Regions from separate parts of the Homo sapiens genome. Here region 1 is linked to region 2. Evidence: promoter capture Hi-C in human tissues and cell types (Jung and others, 2019). All regions are on one chromosome and are shown on one strand. The core of a region is centred on a gene start or on the middle of the fragment in contact, and the rest is flanking DNA. Distances in the headings are between cores, read along the strand shown. Region 1 overlaps ZNF100 (zinc finger protein 100). Region 2 holds the start of ZNF430 (zinc finger protein 430).

Region 1 (5,169 bases), core at 1,263-3,762, 730 kb before region 2:
TGCTAGAATTATAGGCATGTGCCACCTTGCCCAGCTAATTTTTGTATTTTTAGTGGAGACAGGGTTTCACCACGTTGGCCAGGCTGGTATCGCACTCCTTACCTCAACTGATCCACACCCACCTTGGCCTCCCAAAGTGCTGGAATTACAGGTGTGAGCCACCTCTCCCAGCTTGTTCCAGCACCATTTATTAAATAGGGAATTATTTCCTCATTCCTCTTGTCAGCTTTGTCAAAGATCAGATAGTTGGAGGTGTGTGGCATTATTTCTGGCCTCTCTATTGTGTTGCATTTTTCTATGCATCTCTTTTTGCATCAGTATTATGCTGCTTTGGTTATCGTAGCCCTGTAGTGTAGTTTGAAGAGGGTTAATGTAATACCTCCAGCTTTGTTCTTTTTGCTTAAAATTGCCTTGGCTATTCAGGCTTATTTTAGTTCCATATAAATTTTAAAATAGTTAAGTTTTAGTTCTGTTAACAATGTTTTTGGTAGTTTGATAGGAATAGCATTAAGTCAGTAAATTTCTTTGGGTAGTTTTGACATTTTAGTGATGCTAATCTTTTCTATCCATGGCATAAAATGGTTTTCCATTTGTTTATGTCATCTCTCACTTCTTTAAGCAGTGTTTGATCATCTTGTCATAGAGATCTTTCACATTCCTGGGTAGCTGTATTCCTCGATATTTGTGTGTGTGTGTGTGTGGCAATTGTGAATGGCATTATGTTTTTGATTTGGCTTTTGGCTTGGATGTTGTTGATGTACAGAGATGCTACTGATTTAGTATCCTGAAACTTTGCAGAACTTGCTTTTCAGTTTAAAGAGCTTTTCTGCTGAGACTGTACCAATTCTATGTCGAACAGGAGTTTTGAGGGAAGGCATCCTTGTCTTGTGCCAGTTTTCAAGGAGGAATGCTTCTCACTTGTGTCCATTTAGTATGTTGGCTGTAAGTTTGTGAAAGATGACTCATTATTTTGAAGTATGTACCTTCAATGCCTAGTTTGTTGAGGGTTTTAAACATGAAGGATAGTAAATTATATTGAAGGCTTTTTTAGCATCTATTGAAATAATCATGTGGTTTTTGTCTTTAGTTTTGGTTTATGTGATAAGTAACATTTTTTTCCTCTTTTAAAAAATTTCTTCTAAAAAAGCAGGGAGATACACTTGCAGAACATGCAGGTTTGTTACATAGGTATGTGTGCCATGGTGGTTTGGTGCGCCTATTCACCCGTCCTCTATGTTCTGTCTCCTCACCATTCACCCCTCAACAGGCCCTGTGGGTGTAGTTTCCCTCTCTGTGTCCATGTGTTCTCATTGTTCAGCTCCCACTTATGAGTGAGAACATGCAATGTTTTGTTTTCTGTTCCTGTGTTAGTTTGCTGAGGATGCTGGCTTCCAGCTTCATTCATGTTCCTGCAGAGGACATGATCTCATTCCTTTTGATGGCTGCATAGTATTCCATGGCTTATATGTACCACATTTTCTTTATCCAGTCTGTCATTGATGGGCATTTGGGTTGGCTCCATGTCTTTGTTATTGTAAATAGTGCTGCAGTAAACATACATGTGCATGTGTCTTTATAGTAGAATGGTTTATATTCCTTTGGGTATATACCCAGTAATGGGATTGCTGGATCAAATGGTAATTCTGGTCTAGATCCTTGAGGAATGACCATACTGTCTTCCACAATGGTTAGACTAATTTGCCTTCCCACCAAGAGTGTAAAAGTGTTACTATTTCTCCACAGCCTCACCGGCATCTGTTTCTTGACTTTTTAATCATTACCATTCTGACTGGTGTGAGATGTATCTCACTGTGGTTTTGATTTGCATTTCCCTGATGATCAGTGATGTTGAGCTTTTTTTTTTTTCTTTTTTTCTTTTTTCTTGAGACGGACTTTCACTCTCATTGGCCAGGCTGGAGTGCAATGGTGCGATCTTGGCTCACTGCAACCTCTGCCTCCTGGGTTCAAGCGAATCTCCTGCCTTAGCCTCCCGAGTAGCTGGGATTACATGCCCCACCATGCCTGGCTAAGTTTGTATTTTTAGTAGAGACGGGTTTCTCCATGTTGGCCAGGCTGGTCTTGAACTCCCGACCTCAGGTGATCCAGCCGCCTCGGCCTCCCAAAGTGCTGGGATTACAGGCGTGAGCTCGGCTGAGTGTATTTTCATGTTTGTTGGCCACATAAATGTCTTCTTTTGAGAAGTATCTGTTCATGTTTTGCCCACTTTTTGATGGGGTTGTCTTTCTTTTAAATTTGTATAAGTTCCTTATAAATTCTGGATATTAGACCTTTGTCAGATGGGTAGGTTGCAAAAATTTTCTCCTGTTCTGTAGGTTGTCTGTTCATTCTGATGATGGTTTTCTTTTGCTGTGCAGAAGCTCTTTAATTAGATCCCATTTGTCAAATTTTGGCTTTTGTTGCGATTCCTTTTGGTGTTTTTGTCATGAAGTCTTTCCCATGCCTTTGTCCTGAATGGTATTGCCTAGGTTTTCATTTAGGGTTTTTATGGTTAAACATTTAAGTGTTTAACCCATCTTGAGTTACTTTTTGTATAAGTTAATTTTTGTATAATTTTGTAAGGAAGGGGTCCAGTTTCAGTTTTCTGCATATGGCTAGCCAGTTTCCCCAGCACCATTTACTTAACAGAAGATCATTTCCCCATTGCTTTTGTCAGGTTTGTCAAAGGTCAGATGGTTGTAAATGTGTGGTGGTATTTCTGAGGTCTCTGTTCTGTTCCATTGGTTTTTAACATGAAGGGATGCTGAATTTTATCAAAGGCTTTTTTCTATTGAAATAATGATATGTTTTTAATTAAAAGAGTTTATTAACTTTTAATATAAACATGAGAAATAAAAACCACATAAATTGTAACATTCTTTTTAAAATAAAACAGCTATCAATACTTGACTCTCCAAGCTCTGAACTCCATAAACAATGTTTTGTTGTTTTTTTTTTGAGGTGGTAGATTGTAATATTTTTATACCATTATTTATCATTTATTTCTCTGCCCTTTAAAAATGATGGAAATTGCAGCACAATATGATGTGAAATATTGCTATAGTAGAGGAAGTATTCCTGGCCCAGGAATGCTTTGTTTATAAGCAAGATTCCTAGGATTAGATTTGAGTAAGTAGGAGAAATAGATTTCACATAATTGAGAACACTAATCTCCTTTTAGTTTTTCAAATTTAGATGGCATTATCAGTCTCCTAAAATTATTTGTTCCTTGCCTTTTAAAGCCTGAAGTAAGTGTTCCTAAGGGTTATGTAAGTTATTTCTTAAATAGCAGGACTTAATGGGACACCTACAGGTTGGTAGCATGTAGGATGATAAAACAGCTGTTCATATCACCTTCTATCATTAGGGCCCAGTTCCTTTTATTACATGTTAATTAACAGTGCTCTTCAAAATCTTCCTTTAAATTAAAGAAACTTCGGTGATCAATGCATATAGAGCACAGCTCTGCAAGTAATTCATTTTAAAAAGAGAAGGGCATTTTATGGAGATACAAGATATTCCAAAGGTTTAATGTAATTTTAAGCTTTGATACTTGTAGAAGTGCTACAAACCTTCATAAAACCTTGCCTGAATGTTTTTCTTTTCCTTCTTTTGAGATAGGGTCTGGATGTCGCCCAGACTGGAGTGCAGTAGCATGATCATGGCCCACTGCAGCCTTGACCCCGCAGGCTCAAGTGATCCTCCCACCTCAGCCTCCAGAGTAGCTGGGACTACAGACATACGCCACCATATCCAGCTAATTATTTTTATTTATTATTATTTTTTACAGACAGGGGCTCACTGTGTTGACTAGACTGGTCTTGAACTGCTGCGCTCAAGTAATCCTCCCACCTCAGCCTCCCAAAGTACTGAGATTATAGGCATGAATCACTATGCCCGGTGCATTTCTTTTGCATTTAATTTTGCATTTTTCTAAGAGATGGGGTCCCGATATGTTGTCCAGGTTGAAGTGCAGTAGCTATTTCTATAGGCACCATCACGATACACTGCAGCCTCCAATACCTGACCCCAAGCAATCCTCCAGCCACCCAAGTAGCTGGAACCTCAGGTGTGCACCACCACACCCAGCTTCATTTTGAGAATTTTGAATATAAAGCTTTTAATTTTTTGCTTCAGTCAAGAGTGACTTCAAGAGTGACTGAAACAAAAAATCAAAAGCCTAACATTCAGGAGACAAATGCAGGGTGCGCCTGCAGTCCCAGCCACTCGTGTGGCCGAGGCTAGAGGATGGCGCGAAGCCAGGAAGTTCTAGGCTGCAGTGCACCATGACTGCACTGGTGAACAGCCACCATACTCCAGCCTGGACAACACAGCAAGACCCCCATCTCTTAAAGAAAAAAAACAAAACTCTCAAATGATGTTTTTCAAAGGTTTATAGCATTTATACTCCTGCTGCAGTACCTTGGAGGGCCCAAACTATATTAAAGCTTAAAACTGCTTTACTTTTTTTTCACTGTCACTGAACCACCATGTTCATTGGCATTATGAAAATATCTTTTAATACATTTATTTAATAAGATAAAAATTATCAGAAAATGAGAAGTACCATTTATAGTTCACAAGAAATGCAACATGGACCCCAATAGAAGTAGATATCATAACTGATACTTCCTTTGTTTATGACCGCAGACATGCTAAAATGCTAAAGTAATGCTTGCAAAGAATATGAATGACAAATGTTATCCATCAGCTTTTTGGTTTAAAATGATTGCCAATGACTAGCAGCTTTAATGGTAACAGTAGGGAGGAAGAACCCTTCAATACCTAACAATGCTGCAGTCTGCTCCTAAGTGGCTTTAGTTAGAGTCCCTTGTTTTAAGGGCAATACTGCATTGATTCTAAAGGCATATGCAGCAAAATGAGCAGGGGGAGAAAAACTGGAAGAAACATAAAAGTTATATGGTTAATGTCTTTAAAGTCTAAAAATTTAAACTATTGTTTAAAAAACCTAACATAGTTCAGTTACTGGCCCACATTGTAAGCAAATATCTGTGTGTGGGATGGGAGCCTTCACTTTGGAGTGGTTTTGGTGACTCTGTTTACATTAAAAAGGACAGAAGAGTGTTTTGTTGCATTGACAAGGTCCCATTCTTTTCTATGGAGTATGATCCTTGTTGTCCGTGCGTCTCTTGAATTTGAGATCTTTCCTTT
Region 2 (4,795 bases), core at 432-2,931:
AAATTTAGTATCTTACTGCAAGCCAGAGTGAGGCTGGAGAAATGGGGGACGGGGGTTAGACTTAAGACCCTGCTTGGGACACAGGTGAAAAATGCAGCAGAAAATCAGTTCCCCGTGGAGTGTGAAAATAATTGAGTGGCAGGCAATTAGACTGAGGTGTCTCTAGACCCTGGGTTCCTACTTTTAAAAAGATCTAACGTGGCTGGGCGTGATAGCTCACGCCTGTAATCCCAGCATTTTGGGAGGCCAAGGCAGGCGGATCACCTGAGGTCAAGAGTTCGAGGCCAGCCAGGCCAACATGGTGAAACCCCGTCTCTACTAAAAGTACAAAAATTAGCTGGGCAGGGTGGCAGGCGCTTGTAATTCCAGCTACTCAAAAGGCTGAGGCAGGAGAAGCTTGAACACAGGCAGCGGCAGAAGTTGTAGTGAGCCGAGATTGTGCCACTGCACTCCAGCCTGGGCGACAAGAGCGAGACTCCATCTCAAAAAAAAAAAAAAAAAAAAAAAAAAAAAATCTAACTCAGGCGCATCGTTTTGAAAATTACTACATTGAAAGACACAAAATTCAGGCTTAATCAACTGTATACTGCCAATTAAGGTCTGATTACACAACCAGAAAATTTTCACCTTTATTGTACAAACTAAGAAACTACATAACGGTACCTAACCAATTACTGAATTTGGCTTTCTTCATCATGCACCTTATAAAAGTCTTTCCTTCAAGCCCCGCCATGAACAACAAATTACAAACCACAGCTGGGTGCTCAACAGTTTTTTAATCACTCTTTGATTAATTTCTTTAATATTTTTGTGGTGACTTCTGTACATTTTTTTTTTCCGAGACGGAGTCTTGCTCTGTTACACAGGCTGTAGTGCAGTGGCGCTATCTCGGCTCACTGCAATCTCCACCTCCCAGGTTCAAGTGATTCTCCTGCCTCAGTCTCCCAAGTAGCTGGGACTACAGGCGTGTACCACCATGCCCGGCAAATTTTTGTATTTTTAGTAAAGACGGGGTTTCACTATGCTGGCCAGGCTGGTCTTGAACTCTCCTGACTTAGTGATGCGCCCGCCTCGGCCTCCCAAAGTACTGGGATTACAGACGTGAGCCACCCCTCCCGGTCTGTACATTTTTAATAGGAGAAAAGAGGAACTAGGAACCCAGGACCAAAGTTCTTCCCATTCATGAACTCGCACCCCAAGTCAGGATTCTCCCGTGACGATTCTCCCGTGACGATCCTCCCGTGGTCCCTGCACAGTCTGGGAGAGACGCGGCGCTGCGGATGCAGAGCTGCCCAGAGAGGGCTCCAGGCCAGGGCACAGTCACTGCGCAAGGAAGAGACGGGACGTGCTGGGGCCCGCCTGTCAGCGCAGCCGCCATCTTAAGGCTGATGGGGACTGAGGCCCAGCTGGGCAAGAACTCGGGGCGCAGATTGTGCAGCTGACTGCCGGGAGGCCTGAGTCCCGCCACAGCCACTTCCCACCCATTACAACCAGCCCCTCCCCTCTCTGGGGATGTCGGACCCGGCACTCTCACCATTTCTAGGCTTCCAGGGGTTCCTGGCGTCTTAGCTGTAGATCTCCCAATACCTGCGGGTCACAGGGCCACAGAGCCTGGACCTCTAGGAGCAGAGGACACAGAGCGCTGAAGACGAGACCTGGAGCTCAGGCCACAGCGAGGGACAAAGGCCCCGCCAAACCCGGAAGCCGCCCTGTCCGCTTCACCTGCGTGCCTGATTGGACGGTTCCCTGCCTAGCGTCTCTGATTGGATAACATTTAAATCCCCGCCCCCTCAGGCCATGATTGACGGAAGATGTGATGAGATGCGGGGCTGAAAGAAGAGTGACAGCTTGGGCTGCATCCTTCTCTGACAGGGCTTCCTCCCTGAGCTGAGCCAGGCCCACCCCAGAGGTTATTTGCATTTAACCTTGTGTGTAAGGTCATATGCATTTATAAATAATATATGGGGCCGGTCACGGTGGCTCACGCCCGTAATCCCAACATTTTGGAAGGCTGAAGCGGGCAGATGACCTGAGGTCGGGAGTTAGAGACCAGCCTGACCAACATGGAGAAACCCAGTCTTTATAAAAAATATAAAATTAGCGGGTTGTGGTGGCCCATGTGTGTTATCCCAGGTACTCGGGAGGCTGAGGCAGGAGAACCGCTTGAACCTGGGAGGCGGAGGTTGCGGTGAGCCGAGATTGTGCCATTGCACTCCAGCCTGGGCAACAAGAGCACAACTCTGTCTAAAATATATATATATATATATATATATATATTTATTTATATATATTTATTTATATATATTTTTATATATTTATTTATATATATTTTATATATTTATATATGTATTTATTTATATATTTATATATTTATATATTTATTTATATATATTTATATATATTTATTTATATATATTTATATATATTTATTTATATATATTTGTATATATTTATTTATATATATATTTATATATATTTATATATTTATTTATGTATTTATATACATTTATATATATTTATATATATTTATATTTATATAATTATATATATTTATATATTTATATATATTTATATATATATTTATATATTTATATATATTTATATTTATATACTTATATATATTTATATATTTATATATATTTATATATATTTATATATTTATATATATTTATATATTTATATATATTTATATATAAATATTTATATATTTATATATATATATTTATATATTTATATATTTATATATATATATTTATATATTTATATATATTTATATTTATATATTTATATATTTATATTTATATATTTATATGTATATATTTATATATATTTATATTTATATTTATATATTTATATTTATATATATTTTTTATATTTATATTTTTATATATTTTTATATATTTATATATTATACATATTTATATTTATATATATTTATGTTTTTATATATATTTATATTTTTATTTTTATATATTTTTATATATATTTATATTTATATATATATAGTGGCTATTCAAAAATGAAAAGAATGTAACAATAATTATTTTAAAATTTCAGATTTTATGACCTTCCCGGCTAAAGGAGGCAGCCTCAGATTTTAAAAAGATGGTAATCTTCTGAAATAAAATGTGAGCCACATGTGAATCTTAAATTTTCTAGTAGACAAACTTGAAAAAGAAACAAGGAACAGGTTGAATTGATTGTAACAATTTAACCCAATATGTCCATAATATTATCATTTTAATGTGTGAGGAATGTGTAATTATTAATAATGTATATAAACATTTGAAACTAAATCTTTGAAACTAACTCTGTATTTTACCTTTCTAGCACATCGCAGTTCAGACCAGCCACATTCCAGTCACTCAGGAGGCACACGTGGCCAATAGCTGCCACATTGAAGTTCAGCTCTGATGTCAGGGGGGTGAATGAACTGAACATCCCTTTTCTGCCAGAAGTGAAGGCAGAGTCTCTCCCTACCAATATCTTTCTTCAGTTCTAAGGGTGGAACAGATAGTGGCCATAAAAAGAGCAGATGGCAGCAGGAGTAAAATAACCACAGGTAGACCACTGCTGGCCACCTGTTGCCCACTTTTCTTCCAGAGATCAGACAGTGAAGAAAGAATGTTGGGGCCACAGGATAATAAAACTCTGTGTCTTCAGATCTGTCCACACTCTTGACCTCAAATGTTTAGATATGGAGAAAACAGATTAAAGGCAAAACTTATTTTGCTATTGGCCTTGGCCCTACTAGTCAGGCTGTAGTTACCTGTTTTCTCCTGTGGTGTGTGGGACTGTGTGGGTATAAGCACCAATCACATGCATACATGTCTACCTGTATTTCTGCATTACTCAACATTCTCTTACAAGTCACCCAACTTTAAATCAGGGGAAAAAATCAGTACCTATAGGGTGCCCACTGTTAGAACATAACTAGTAATCAACCTGTCATTGAATCCTGGCATCCTATCTGCACTGGGTGCATGTATTAGTTAGCTATTGCAGCATAACAAATCATCCAAAACTTATTAGTTCATAATCGAGATGGTCAGCCATTTAGGTTGGGCTCAGTGGGGCCATTCTTCTGGTTTCAGCTGAGCTCCTTCAGTCATATGTCGTCAGCTGCTTGTTGACTAGGCAGCTGTGCTTCTGGGGGTGATGTTCTGCTTCTGGGGTTGTCAATAGGGACACCTTGCTTCTCCTCCCCATGATACCTTATTTTCCAGCTGGCTAACATGGGCTTTTTTCCAAGGTGATGTCAACATTCTAAAAGAAAAACAGAAGCACTCAAGACCATTTGAGCCTAGGTCCCAAACTAGCTCATTGCCATGTTCACAGGTTTCTACTGCCCTGAGCAAATAAGGCCAGCCTGATCTAGGGTTTGGAAAACAGATTCTGAATCTTGATGGAAACAACTGTAAAAGCATCTGGCATTGGGCATGGATACAAGGGGGATGAAAAATTGCTACCATTTTGCAAACACGGTGGCTCAGACCTGTAATCCTAGCACTTTGGGAGGCTAAGATGGGAGAATTATGTGAGCTCAGGCGTTCCAGTGCAGCCTGAGCAACATAATAAGATTTTGTTTCCATTAAAAAAATGAAAAAATTAGCCAACCATGGTGGTACATGCCTATAGTCCCAATACTTAGGTGGCAGAGGCAGGAGGATTGCTTGAGTCTGGAAGGTCAAGGCTGCAGTAAGCCATGATTGGCTGCACCACTGCCATCCACACTGGGTGGTAAAATGAGACTCTGTCTCAAAAAAAAAAAAATATTGGAGAAGCATTTCGAAGA

Evidence for each region. The method cuts DNA at HindIII sites, captures the fragments that hold promoters and counts their contacts. A contact is called where the count stands out against the background at its distance.
Region 1: a fragment that was not itself captured here is called in contact with the fragment with the promoter of ZNF430 in region 2 in 1 of the 25 tissues and cell types used here (stomach).

The regions. Positions count from the first base shown.
Region 1 is chr19:21,752,023-21,757,191 of GRCh38, reverse strand. The region is part of intron 2 of ZNF100 (zinc finger protein 100); the gene reads left to right. It also overlaps the pseudogene CCNYL6. Among named protein-coding and RNA genes, the nearest start is that of ZNF100, 13 kb to the left of the region's middle. The HindIII fragment of the contact is 6,514 bases long and covers 1-5,169 here.
Region 2 is chr19:21,017,543-21,022,337 of GRCh38, reverse strand. It overlaps ZNF430 (zinc finger protein 430), which reads right to left and starts at 1,681. Exons shown (of 5, transcript NM_025189.4): 1 at 1,535-1,681. The coding sequence starts at 1,537. RefSeq lists enhancers at 806-1,397, 1,398-1,991. The HindIII fragment of the contact is 8,151 bases long and covers 1-4,795 here.